Linked DNA regions of Homo sapiens: region 1 is linked to region 2. The links are contacts of gene promoters, found by promoter capture Hi-C in blood cells and fetal thymus (Javierre and others, 2016). All regions are on one chromosome and are shown on one strand. Each heading gives the region's core, a stretch centred on a gene start or on the middle of the fragment in contact. The rest is flanking DNA. Distances are from core to core; before and after follow the strand shown.

Region 1 (5,603 bases), core at 950-3,449, 440 kb after region 2:
GACAAACCAGTAGTAGTTAAAGTGCTGCATCTAAATTGTTGAAGCTTGTTACGTGGGAGTTCATTAGACTGTTTTTCCTACTTTTGTGTATTTTTGAAGTTTTCCATAATAAAACATTTAAAAAGACAAAAAATGTTTTAAAGTGCTTCATCAGTCCTGAGGAAGAGAACGCACATGGGTTTCTCTTTAGAAGAGTACTTATTAACCAAGGGGTTAGGTAGAATGTACACCCTTTAGTAGAGACATACCCTGTAAAAATCTGGGGAGGGGGGCGTTTTAGATTGAAAAAGCCTCTTTGCCAAAAATTCTGGTTAGGTCTTCTAGAAGGGAAATATCCTTCTGCCTGCAATCCCCCTCCACCAAACCCCACAAGTAAGTCTTGCTGTAATGAACCACTATTGGTGAAAGAAGTATATCATATCCCTTGGGCGATTGAGAGTGGAGGGAGCTTGAAAACCATGGAAACAGACCTCAGCTAATTGGCAAAAACTGTTAGCCAGCAGGAAGAGAAGCACAGGCAAAGGGAGTATTGGGGCAGGAGATGGAACTTGGAGTGTAATGGGGCTTCATTCTCACCCCAGGTGAGTGCTGGAGAGGACAAAGCTGCTAATGACAGAGGACACCAGGGAGCAGAATATGTGGCAAAGAGGTCCTTACTGAGGACCTCAGGGTATTCTTGGAAGGCTCTGGGCCCCATCTGACTTGCAGGTTTTTGTTTTGTTTCTTTGTTTTTCGTTTTTGAGACAGAGTTTCACTCTTATCGCCCAGGCTAGAGTGCAGTGGCGGATCTCAGCTCACTGCAACCTCCACCTCCTGGGTTCAAGCGATTCTCCTTCCTCAGCCTCCCAAGTAGCTGGGATTACAGGCGCCGGCCACCACGCCCAGCTAACTTTTTGTATTTTTAGTAGAGACGGGGTTTCGCCATGTTGGGCAGGCTGGTCTTGAACTCCTGACTTAGGTGATCTGCCCGCCTTGGCCTCTCAAAGTGCTGGGATTACAGGCGTGAGCTATCATGCCCAGCTGACCTGCAGTTTTTAAAACAGTGGGGTGGATCCCTGTCTCTCACCATACACAAAAATCAACAACAACAACAATAAAACAATGGGAAAGCTGCCTGAAGGCAAAGATCACACACACACACACACACACACACACACACACACACACACACACACTCTTTCAAGGACTTGGAACCTGACTGTTCCAGGTCCAACCTGAACCTGCTTGGAAAGGCGGGTTCCATAGAGTACCCATTGAAAACTATGTGGTTTTGTTCGTTCTTTGTTGTGTTTTCACTGTGTAACTAAGCAAATGACGGGGTTTGTACACTGCTGGGAGTGAGCAGATATGGTTGGAGAGGTGGGGCACTGTTTAGGGCATGGGGAAATCAGAGCACATGTTCTCTCAAGGTCCTGAGGTTGAGATAAAATGGTTTGAAACTGGGGACAGAGAAGGGAGCAAGGGCAGTTCCTAAAAGGTACAAAGCCGAGATTCACCCCGCTGCTTCCAGGCCAGAGTTCTGGGTAGGACGTCAATGAGACCCAGGCCGGTACAGCCAGCTTTCAATAGAGCTGGTCTGTGAAACTTGGCCGAGAGGACAGAGGAAGATTGATGTTTGCTCCAGAGTGGGGCTGTCAGCTGTGCTCACCACCTCACCATGCTCCCAGCTGTAAACAAAAGTCCTGGCCCTTCATGGCACTGCAGAGCAGTCCAGGCTGGCGTAAGTCTCTGAGGACAGCTAGACCATTTTCTCATCCTGGCTGAGAACCAGAAGACAGAAGAAACAATAGAAGGTGGTGGGTAGGGGTGGGCAGGATTGCAAGGGGGTGAGAATCAGTGACCAGAGGGAAGGAGCTGTCAATTTCAGATCTTAGGTTTGTGCATCCAAGTACTTAGTACAAATCTTATAGGGAAAGCAGACCCCTTTCCTTGTCAGCTTCACAGATAATAGTGAACTACCAAAGGAGGCTTGCAGGGACTCTAGTGCCTCATTCATTCATTCATTCTTTCAGTGAATACCTCATGTGCCTGTCACTGGGCTAGATACTCTGGGTGATGCCAAAGTAATACAAGACAGCTCGTAAATTCAAGGAACTTACAAGAAGTTTGTAAACGTGTAACCTTAAGTCACAATACCAATAGTAAGACTTTAAATCCTAAGTGACAGACATAGAATAAGAGTTTAGAAACGAGAGTAGTCATATCTGGTCATCATCAGAGAAAATGGAGTTTGAGAGGGCTATAGAAAGATAGACACAATTTGGCCAAGGGAAAAAAGATACCAGGCATTCCAGGCTAGGACCAAATTGTTAGTAACAATGAGGCCTGCCTTCGCGAAGGCAGAAAGTTAGTATGACACAGACTCTCTTCAGTCTTCACCCCGTCATGTTCCTCACCACAGCTAACCCAGTCTTCAAAACTCACTTAAATGTCACTTCCTCAGGGAGGCCTTCCCTGATCTCCAGGGCCAGATTAAGTACTCTTGCTTTATGTTCCCATAGCACCCATTACTTTCCCCTTTCTAAGACACCACTATTTTCACCTGATGACCTACTCATGTCTCCCTACAATTTGTTCTCCACTCTGCAGCCGGAGTTTTTTTGCAAATGCAAATCTGTTACATCACTTCCCTCTTGGAAACTCTCCTACCTCTAACATCTTCCTTCTCCTTTGCCTTCCTGGTCCTTCTTGCCTCTTTCCATCTTACTTTTCCTTCTGGTCACTTCTTAAATGTCTCTATCTAAGTTTGTCTCCCCTGCCAGAATGTCAGCCCTCTGAGGGCAGGAGTTATGTTTCTTCCTCACCATGTATCTGTGTATTTAGCACAGTGCCTGGCATATTGTGTTAGGCACTCCACAAAAATTTGTGAATAAATCCAAGGGAGATAAGGCAATATTAGTAGCCAACTGAAGGATTAATCTTACACTTCTGTGCAAAGGGAAATCTTTAAAAGTTTTTAAATAGGGGTATAAAAAAAATCATGAGAGAACCCTGCCTTCTGACAAAACAAACAGAACAAAGCAAAAAATGATCAAACAAAACCCAGAGAACTCCAACCTCAGCTTACCCTAAACCCGGCCTCCCAATGATCTTGTAGACTCATGTTCTCTTCCTTTCTGTTTCCCCCACCACTGCCTCCTCCAAAAACACAAGAAAACTTACTCATTGATCCTTCCAACCAGAGAAATTTGGCAGTATGGCCAAATACACTTACTTCCACATTTGTAGTTGTTCGTTGGGCTAGCATTTATTGCCCACCTCCATTGTTCCAAGTGCTGTGCTCATAGCTACAGATGGAGACTTTTTTCTTACCTCGATGGTGCTCACAACTGAGTGAACCCCTTACACTTACCACTCACTTCGTGACTTCAAATTTCTAGTGAAGGGCTTTGCTTTACCTGGGCTCAGTGATGGAGACTTTTCAGGGTACTGGAGCCTGCAAAAGACCTCAATTTCAGGACCATCTGTAAAACTGGGGACTCAGTGAGACTCAGAGGATGGATAAGTATATCCGTTTACACTAGACTGTTACCTTTCTGTGAGGAGGCTAAATGGCAGGGTGGTGAATATCCGGAAGGGTGGTTAGGCATCAGCCATTTCTTAACCTTATTAGGTTGGGCTTACTAAGGCAAACAGGCCACCAAGGTGCACCTCTTGAGTGAAGCAGCATGGAAAAACTCAAGGAATGACAGGAGAAAGAATTGGATTTCTCATTAAAAATAGAGGCACTGCCTTGCACTTTGAGGGGGGCTGAAATAAGAATGCAACTCCAAGAAACCTTCCAAAGATAATCAGAGGACACCCACTCACCCTGAGGTAGCCCTTAATGCCAGGGTATGGTTTTTTCATCTCAGATTCAGTTCCCAGCTAATTAGGGGGTAGCAAATTAAGACATCAGAGAGCCAGTGCACGTTCACCCCTTCACACCCCCCACCCCCAAAGAAGGGTGAAGGAAAGAAATAGATACTATTTTGTAGCTGAAGTCCTAACTGGATATCTCTTGGCTGAAGAATAACATCATACATGGTATCAGTGACACTTTAAAGATATAGTCATTAGTTTTGACCCTCTCTTTCCCCCTTGAATCCTTTACCCTAAACATGAATCCACCACCAGGATGTTAGGGAGAGAGACTATATGTAGCAGATGGAGACAAATGAGATTAACTTCCATGATTCATTACTTTTGCCTGTTAGGTAGCCTTGGGTGAAGACAGTTCATACACCTGGAATTTGACATCCTAATGAGATGGGACAGGAAGGGTTAACTCCAAAATCAGTGAAGTATATTTCATAGGAGAATAACAACACATTCACGAGAAACCATATTGTCTCCTTCCTTAATAGACCAACCTGAAGCTTAGGCCAATCAAATGATGATAACAGGTTGTGTTTCTGCTACGCAAAGACTAAAAGAAGTGTAAGTCTAAGGGATTAACAAATTCACAAAGAAACCCTGGTGAAAGAAATCCTGAATTTCTGCTATTTGGAGCTTGGCATGACCATTGCACACCTGTAATATCATTGTAACTGTTGCCAAGATTTTTGCTATATCCCGTTTCTGTGGGGACTGTGAATATCTAATATGAGTGTCGTCAACAGATGAACAGGGCAGAGGTTGGGAACTGAATGTTCATCACAGAAACAGTTTTTTCCCTTGCAGATTACCTTTGGCCTTGAATCTGTTGCTGTCTACAAGTCAGAGCCATCCCAGAAGTGAGCCTCTGGAGCTAATAAATGATGACACACTCTAGTCTTTCCCTTCCTGTTCTATTCTTTCCTTTCACAGCTTCAACTAAGTTGAGAAAAAAGGGGGACTACACTGAGGGCCTGAGCTTTGCCCAATCAAGCCCTCAGTATCCCCATGTTGTCTGATGAGCAGACTAGACTAAATGATCTGGGAAGGCCCTTCTAGCTCTGCTGTGCCAGGTTCTAAAATTCTTTTTTTTTTTTTTTTTTTTTTGAGACGGAGTCTCGCTCTGTCACCCAGGCTGGAGTGCAGTGGCGTGATCTTGGCTCACTGCAAGCTCCGCCTCCCAGGTTCATGTCATTCTCCTGCCTCAGCCTCCCAAGTACCTGGGACTACAGGCGCCCGCCACCACGCCCAGCTAATTTTTTGTATTTTTAGTGGAGAAGGGGTTTCACCGTGTTAGCCAGGATGGTCTCGATCTCCTGACCTCGTGATCCACCTGCCTCGGCCTTCCAAAGTGCTGGGATTACAGGCGTGAGCCACTGTGCTCAGCCGCCAGTTTCTAAAATTCTAAGACATTGTTATCTGTTGAGCCAGTTGTCTTATGGGAAATCCCATGAGACATTTGTTTTCTAAAAGAGCCAACTGTTTATTTCTCTGCATGGGCATATTGGTGAGAGTTAAATGCAGTCAGGATAGCAAATGTGTTGCTGTGGCCAATTGTCTTAAGCATTCTTGCCCTTCTGATGGTCAGGGCTGTCTTTGTAACAATGATTCTCATTGTCTGAAGTAGTTAAGGATTAGCATTAAACTGAGGACTGATAAGACTGAGGTCATTAGCCAGGCATTGTTAGTAAGTAAAAGGGGAGGTAGGGTGACAAGTATTCAGGACTTCTGTAGGTTGATAACTTGAA
Region 2 (5,716 bases), core at 777-3,276:
TTGACTCTTACTTGTAAAAAAAATCCTTAATTCTTTTTGTGTGTGAGACACGTGTTCATTAAAAAGTACATATAAGCAAAAAGAACAAAAAGAAGAAAACAAATAAAATTTCACACCACACAGAAATAAGCTTGGTTAAGTTTGTGATATATGTTATATGGATGTATGTATACACACACGCACACACACAAAGTTTGGAATTTTATCCTACATATGTGAGCTGATATTAAATATGCTGCTTTGCCATAACCTGTTATGTTTTACTTTACAACATGGAATGAACATATTCCCATGCAAATGTGTGAAAGTTTCCAATTGAAAAATAGACCTGGAAAATGGGTCAAAATCCAAAATCCAATGAGATGCTGGTACCAAGGAAATTACCTAAAACAAAATTTCATCAGATGATTAAAAGTAAAATGGAGGTCAAAGATACATCAGAAAATGCTAACAGAAAGAAAGCTGGGGCCAGATTTTAATATTAGGCAAAAATGAATTCAAGGCCTAAAGCACACAGGATAAGGACGGCTGCGTGAATGTCTTTGCTTCCAATGCATCATCACAAACTTGTTTCTTACTCTTCTTATCTCTTCCCTAAGCCTTTCAAGCTCATCTACTCCTCTTATCATTTCTTCAGGGTCCAAATGCCTAACGGGTGTGTCCTCTTTAAATCCCTGGCCAGGCTGATTCGGCCCTCCTCTGGGGTTTCCTTCTGCTTCCTGGCTTACGCCTTCTTCGGAAGGTTGAGGATTTCCTTCTGCCTCCTGTGGTACATCCTCCAAAGGGCGATCTTCCTCGGCCTTTGGCATGTTCTGTGGTTTTCCCTCATTTTCTTCACAAGACTTTTGCATATTGAGTATTTTTTATTTCCTTTTTGAATAAATTAATCCTAGAAAACAAGGAAACAAAACTACTAGATTCCAGGCAAACAGACCAGCAGTCAGAGTATGGGGTCCCATAGCGACTGGCCTTTTTTGACTCAGTACCCTAATTGTCAAAAGTTTTCCAACTAGAGAAAGCTGGATCCTCAGGCTCAGAACTCCCCTGACTCCACCTCCCTTCGCGCCCCCTTTCGTTCCAGCTCCATCTTTCTCCTCCTGCTCCTGCCCACCATCTTCCCAGCAGGCCCTGCTACAAGCCTCTCCTAATACTGAAATGGGAGCAGTACGGAAGCAATTAACCCTTCTCCCGCCTCTGGTCTCCAACACTCCCGCCCTTCAGACTTTCCCAGGCCCTCTCAACCTCCAGCCTCTCACCTGAGACGGCTGGTCCAGTCTCTGGCCTCCCCTCCCCCTTCAGCGTCTCTTAAGCCTCCTCCTCCCCCGCCTCATTTCCGCTGCAGGCTCGGCACCGGCCTCTGGCACTTAATCCGGATGGGGAGGGGCTGCTGCGACCCCAGGATGTGCTTTGGTGTCACTCACACTTCCACCCCCACCCGAAGAGACCTGAAGCAATTGCACCTTTACAAAAACTGACCTGCAGGGATTCAGGGGATTTTCCTCTCTCTTCCCTCACCTCGATTTGTGTCGCGCCCAAAAAACCAAATATCCTGCAGACAGATGGGAGTGTTTGGTGAGCAGACTAGTACCTGGATCACGGGTCCCTTTCATGATTCTAGGCCATGTTGGTGTAAAGTTTCCCATGTCCTCATCCTCGCCCTCCTTTTATGGCAACCCCGCCCTCCTCCGTGCCCACCGTTTTTCTGCAAGCAGGGAGTAGGAAAAGCAAGTTTCTTCCAAACAGTTTCTATGTCTCTCTCTCAGGACCCTTAATTAGCTACCCTTCTCTCTCTCCACCCGCCATCCCCCACCAAACAGCCCCAAATTTCCTGCACAAAATGGGAGTTTGGCGGAACAGAAGTGGGGAAAGCAGTGCCGGCCCCGCTTGCTTTCTGCTCTCGGCCTCCTCGACCCCAGGGTCTCCAAGTCAGCGCCCACGTTTATACTAACCTGAAAGGATCTTGGGCACTTTTCTCCTTCTCCAGCAATAAGGAGCTGCTACAGGGAAACAGGCCCTGGACTATAAGGACTTCTGCACACGTCGACTCCTGGTCACGTGAGAGTCGCGTCATCACTGAGCTCGAGTCCCCAGTTACCCCTCCCATTAACACTGCAGCCCGCCCGCTGCGTTCCCTCCACTTGATACTGTCAATCTTTTTTCGTATTTGCCAATCGGAGACAATAAACTGTTATCTTCGCCCTGGAGTATTTATTCGCCTTTCTCAGATTACCAGGAGGATCAGCCTTTTAGGGGTAATCGACCATTTCTCCTTCTTTGAGGAATCATCTCTTTCTTCTGCTCCCAATACTCCCACCTCCCCTCCTCCAAGACCCCTACAGTCCACCATTTCCCCTGGAATCCTATCCAGCATTGAAATGGGCAAAGGTGGTAGATCGGGAAGAGGGGGCTGGAAAAGAATCTAAGGTTGAAAGTGGAGGATTTGACTAATCCTCTTGAATAGTTTTCTGTTGTGTTCTATGTTTTCAGCAATCAGCATACTTTTAAAAATGGTATCAGAAAACGGATGCCTCATAAGCAATATGTAACACTTAATATGAAGGACAAATTAGTTATATCAATGTGTAAGACTTTGGAAAAGTTTTCTAATGGCTGGAAATGAAATGACAATATTCACAACATATTGATGTGTTAGAATTTTTTAAAATCTTACCAAACAGCACTTAAAAAATTGACTCCCAAATTAATGTGTGGAAGGAGGCCTAGTTTTCTCTTGTTAGCAATTTTGTATAGGTAATCTACTACTCTTTCTATTTCTGGCAGAACTCAAGTTATCAAGTGTTGGATGTCTGATCTTTTTCATTGATGACCACTGGTGGCATCCACTAAGGTTTCACTTGGAGGCTTCAGACAGACTTCCTCCCCATTTCCTCTATAGGATTCAGTATCTTGTTAATCAGATAAGTCCACAGAAAAGCCTGCTTTCCACTGAGTAAAATTCTTTTGGAACTCAAAGTAGTATGTTTCTTGGAAAACATTTCGTTGTTGGGAAATAACTCATACACTCATGAAACACTCAGAAAAGAGAATTCTCTGTATCTCACCATCAGGCTTGAGGCTTCTTTGCATGGCATTTTCATTCATGGCACTCTTGAGATAGTCTGGTATCATCCACTGTGTCCCATTAAAAGAACTATTGACATGCATAATTGTTATGATTAGAAAGCAAAGAGAACAACATTGCTGTAAAAAATAATATTAAACAGGAAACTGATATCCCTGCAACTCAGAATCCACTGGTACTTGGAAGGATGGTGGTGCCTGGAGTGGCATTCTGGCCAATGGAGCCAGCTGGAGAGTCAGAAGAAGACAGAGGGGGTCTTTTGTCTAGGGTGGTCACAGCAGGATGCCTTAGCCAACAAGAACACCCACCAGAGAAGAGAAAAGAAGGTTTGGAAAAAATAAATATTTTTTGGACTTAATGATTTATAGTTGAAGCATGACAAATTTCTTCCACACTTGAGGGATAAATGTTCTATTGTTTGAGAGAGAGCTTTTAATATAAATATAACTAGCAAATTATAAAGATTTAATCATTGCCTATCACCAAATGTTTCCACTCTTTTAAATGTAACCATTTAGTGAGGAACAACTCTGATCTTTTAAAAGAAAAATCATCAGCAGCAAAATGGACTTTGTGTGTGTGTACACTTCTATGAAGTTTAACCAATGTATAGATTTGTTTAACCACCACTGCAATCAGAATACAGTTCAATCACCCCCAGAAACTCCTGCATGCTGTCTCTTGTAGTCCTATTTGACTGCCTTCCCTAAACTCTGGCAACCACTAATATATTCCCCATTACTACACTTTTGTCTTATTCAGAATATTATGTAAATGATTTCATTTTTCAATTTTTGTGCACTGGCTTCTTTTGGGACTGGCTTCTTTCACTCAGCATAATGCCCTGGACATCCATTTGAGTTGTTGCATGTATCAATAGTTTATTCTCTTTTTTGCTGAGTAGTATTCTGTTATTTAGCTATTCCACAGTTTGCTTATTCATTCACCTGCTGAAGGACATTTGAGTTATTCCCAGCTCTAAGCAATTATGAAAAGAACTGCTGTAAACATTCATGAACAGATTTAGGCCATTGCTTCACTTCTGGACTTCCTGCCTCCAGCGCCTCCCTCTCTCCCTTTAATCCACCTTACACATTACCTTGTCCCTGCTTTCAACAGTCATTCTCCTGCTCAGTGACCCTGGATGGTAACCGCACCACTCACCAAGTAAATCCTATACTCCTTATCTTGACATTCAGCCTCCATCAGAATTGAACCTCAGGACATGTTTCTAGCCTCATCATCTCCTTCTCTGCCCCATCCAAAATAAACCCTTACTTCATTGTCTACAGAAGCAGTGAGATCAAATTAAAAATTAAAAACTAATAATAATAAACAACCCTTAGTCACTGTGCCCAAGCATGCCTTATACTTCTCTCTTTGTCCTTGTTCGTCATTATCTTGTTCCTGATTGCCCTCCTCTTCCTCCTAGATCCTGGTGCTGCTCATTCTTAGAGGTCAAGACCTAATCACCCAGCCTCTGAAGCTGGAAGTGATCTCTCCCTCCTCTGTCATTGCTGCACATGAAATCTGCACCCTTCGTGTAACCCTTAACAAAGGTTACCTTGTACCTTTCCGTGTGTGTGTGTGTGTGTGTGTGTGTGTGTGTGTGTGTTGGGGGTGGAGGGTATCTAACCAGGAAGATGGTCAGATGTGAGTTGAGGGTAGGGAGCAAGGATCAGGCTCCAGCTATTACGCTTCTTTAGTGGCTCTAGTAATGTTAAACAGTGGGTCTCTCAGAAATCTCAGGGTCTCAGAAAGAGCTGTTTGCCATTTGGCTCACAGACAAACTTCATTTTGCTTGCACAAAATTGAAGCAGAAGTTTCATTGTACTCTCCTTTACTTATTCTGCTTTACATATAGCCACAGCAATATTAATACCATGTTTATGGAGCTATTGGCAAAGGTTATTGACCTTGTCTTCCTAAATACTCACAGTAGAGATTAGTTAGCTCACTGGTACACACCTGACAAAGAGCCAGGTGATACAGGCCTTCACCTTCATCCTTGTTCCGGGGCAATTTCAGTGTGTCAATACAACACTCAGCTACCTTTGAAATTAAGTCAATCAGAGTAGATTTTAAATATAAGTAAATTTTTGAAAATAGCATTCTACTGAAGTAAAAACTATCTTTTTAAAAAGGAAAGAAAAAGGTGTACACATTAATTTTAACAATAAGGATATGAATTCTGGAGAGTAGAAACCCTGGGCCTCTGAGCCAATCAATGTCCTGTTTTTGTGCACCAAGAGAGCACTAGAGATAGTTCCAAAGTCCAAAGTCCTTCAGGTTATGTGAGAGGAGGAGAAAGCAGTCAGCATTTTACCATTTGAGTATCCAGAAAGCTCTTATATAAGACTATAGTATCCAGAATATTGTTTTCTATGTTCCTTCCATAGTCTTGTGTTCTGATACTCTATATTTAGCAACTCCTCCTGCATTTTTTTTCATTGCTCTTTCAAAGGTCATCCCATAGAACTTGAGCTGACCATTCTTATCTATCACTTCTTTAGCATGATCTGTACGGCTTGAAAGCATCACTCCTTACATAGCAAAGTCTTCCCCAGATCCAAAGTTTTAGCTACCAGATCCTAAGGTGTGCACTCCAGCAGCCTCCATCTGAGATGATTTGCC

What was found. The method cuts DNA at HindIII sites, captures the fragments that hold promoters and counts their contacts. A CHiCAGO score of 5 or more calls a contact.
Region 1: a contact is called between a fragment that was not itself captured here and the fragment with the promoter of TCEAL8 in region 2, in 1 of 17 cell types (non-activated CD4 T cells). The highest score is 6.2, in non-activated CD4 T cells.

What each region holds. Positions count from the first base shown.
Region 1 is chrX:103,692,428-103,698,030 of GRCh38, forward strand. MORF4L2-AS1 (MORF4L2 antisense RNA 1) reads left to right here. Exons shown (of 3, transcript NR_038978.1): 3 at 1-133. Among named protein-coding and RNA genes, the nearest start is that of MORF4L2-AS1, 7.9 kb to the left of the region's middle. RefSeq lists enhancers at 4,611-5,361, 5,362-5,603. The HindIII fragment of the contact is 4,314 bases long and covers 43-4,356 here.
Region 2 is chrX:103,253,129-103,258,844 of GRCh38, forward strand. It overlaps TCEAL8 (transcription elongation factor A like 8), which reads right to left and starts at 2,027. Exons shown (of 3, transcript NM_153333.3): 1 at 1,950-2,027; 2 at 1,477-1,549; 3 at 1-889. The coding sequence starts at 851. The coding sequence ends at 498. It also overlaps the pseudogene LOC100420653. RefSeq lists an enhancer at 1,964-2,013. The HindIII fragment of the contact is 6,472 bases long and covers 129-5,716 here.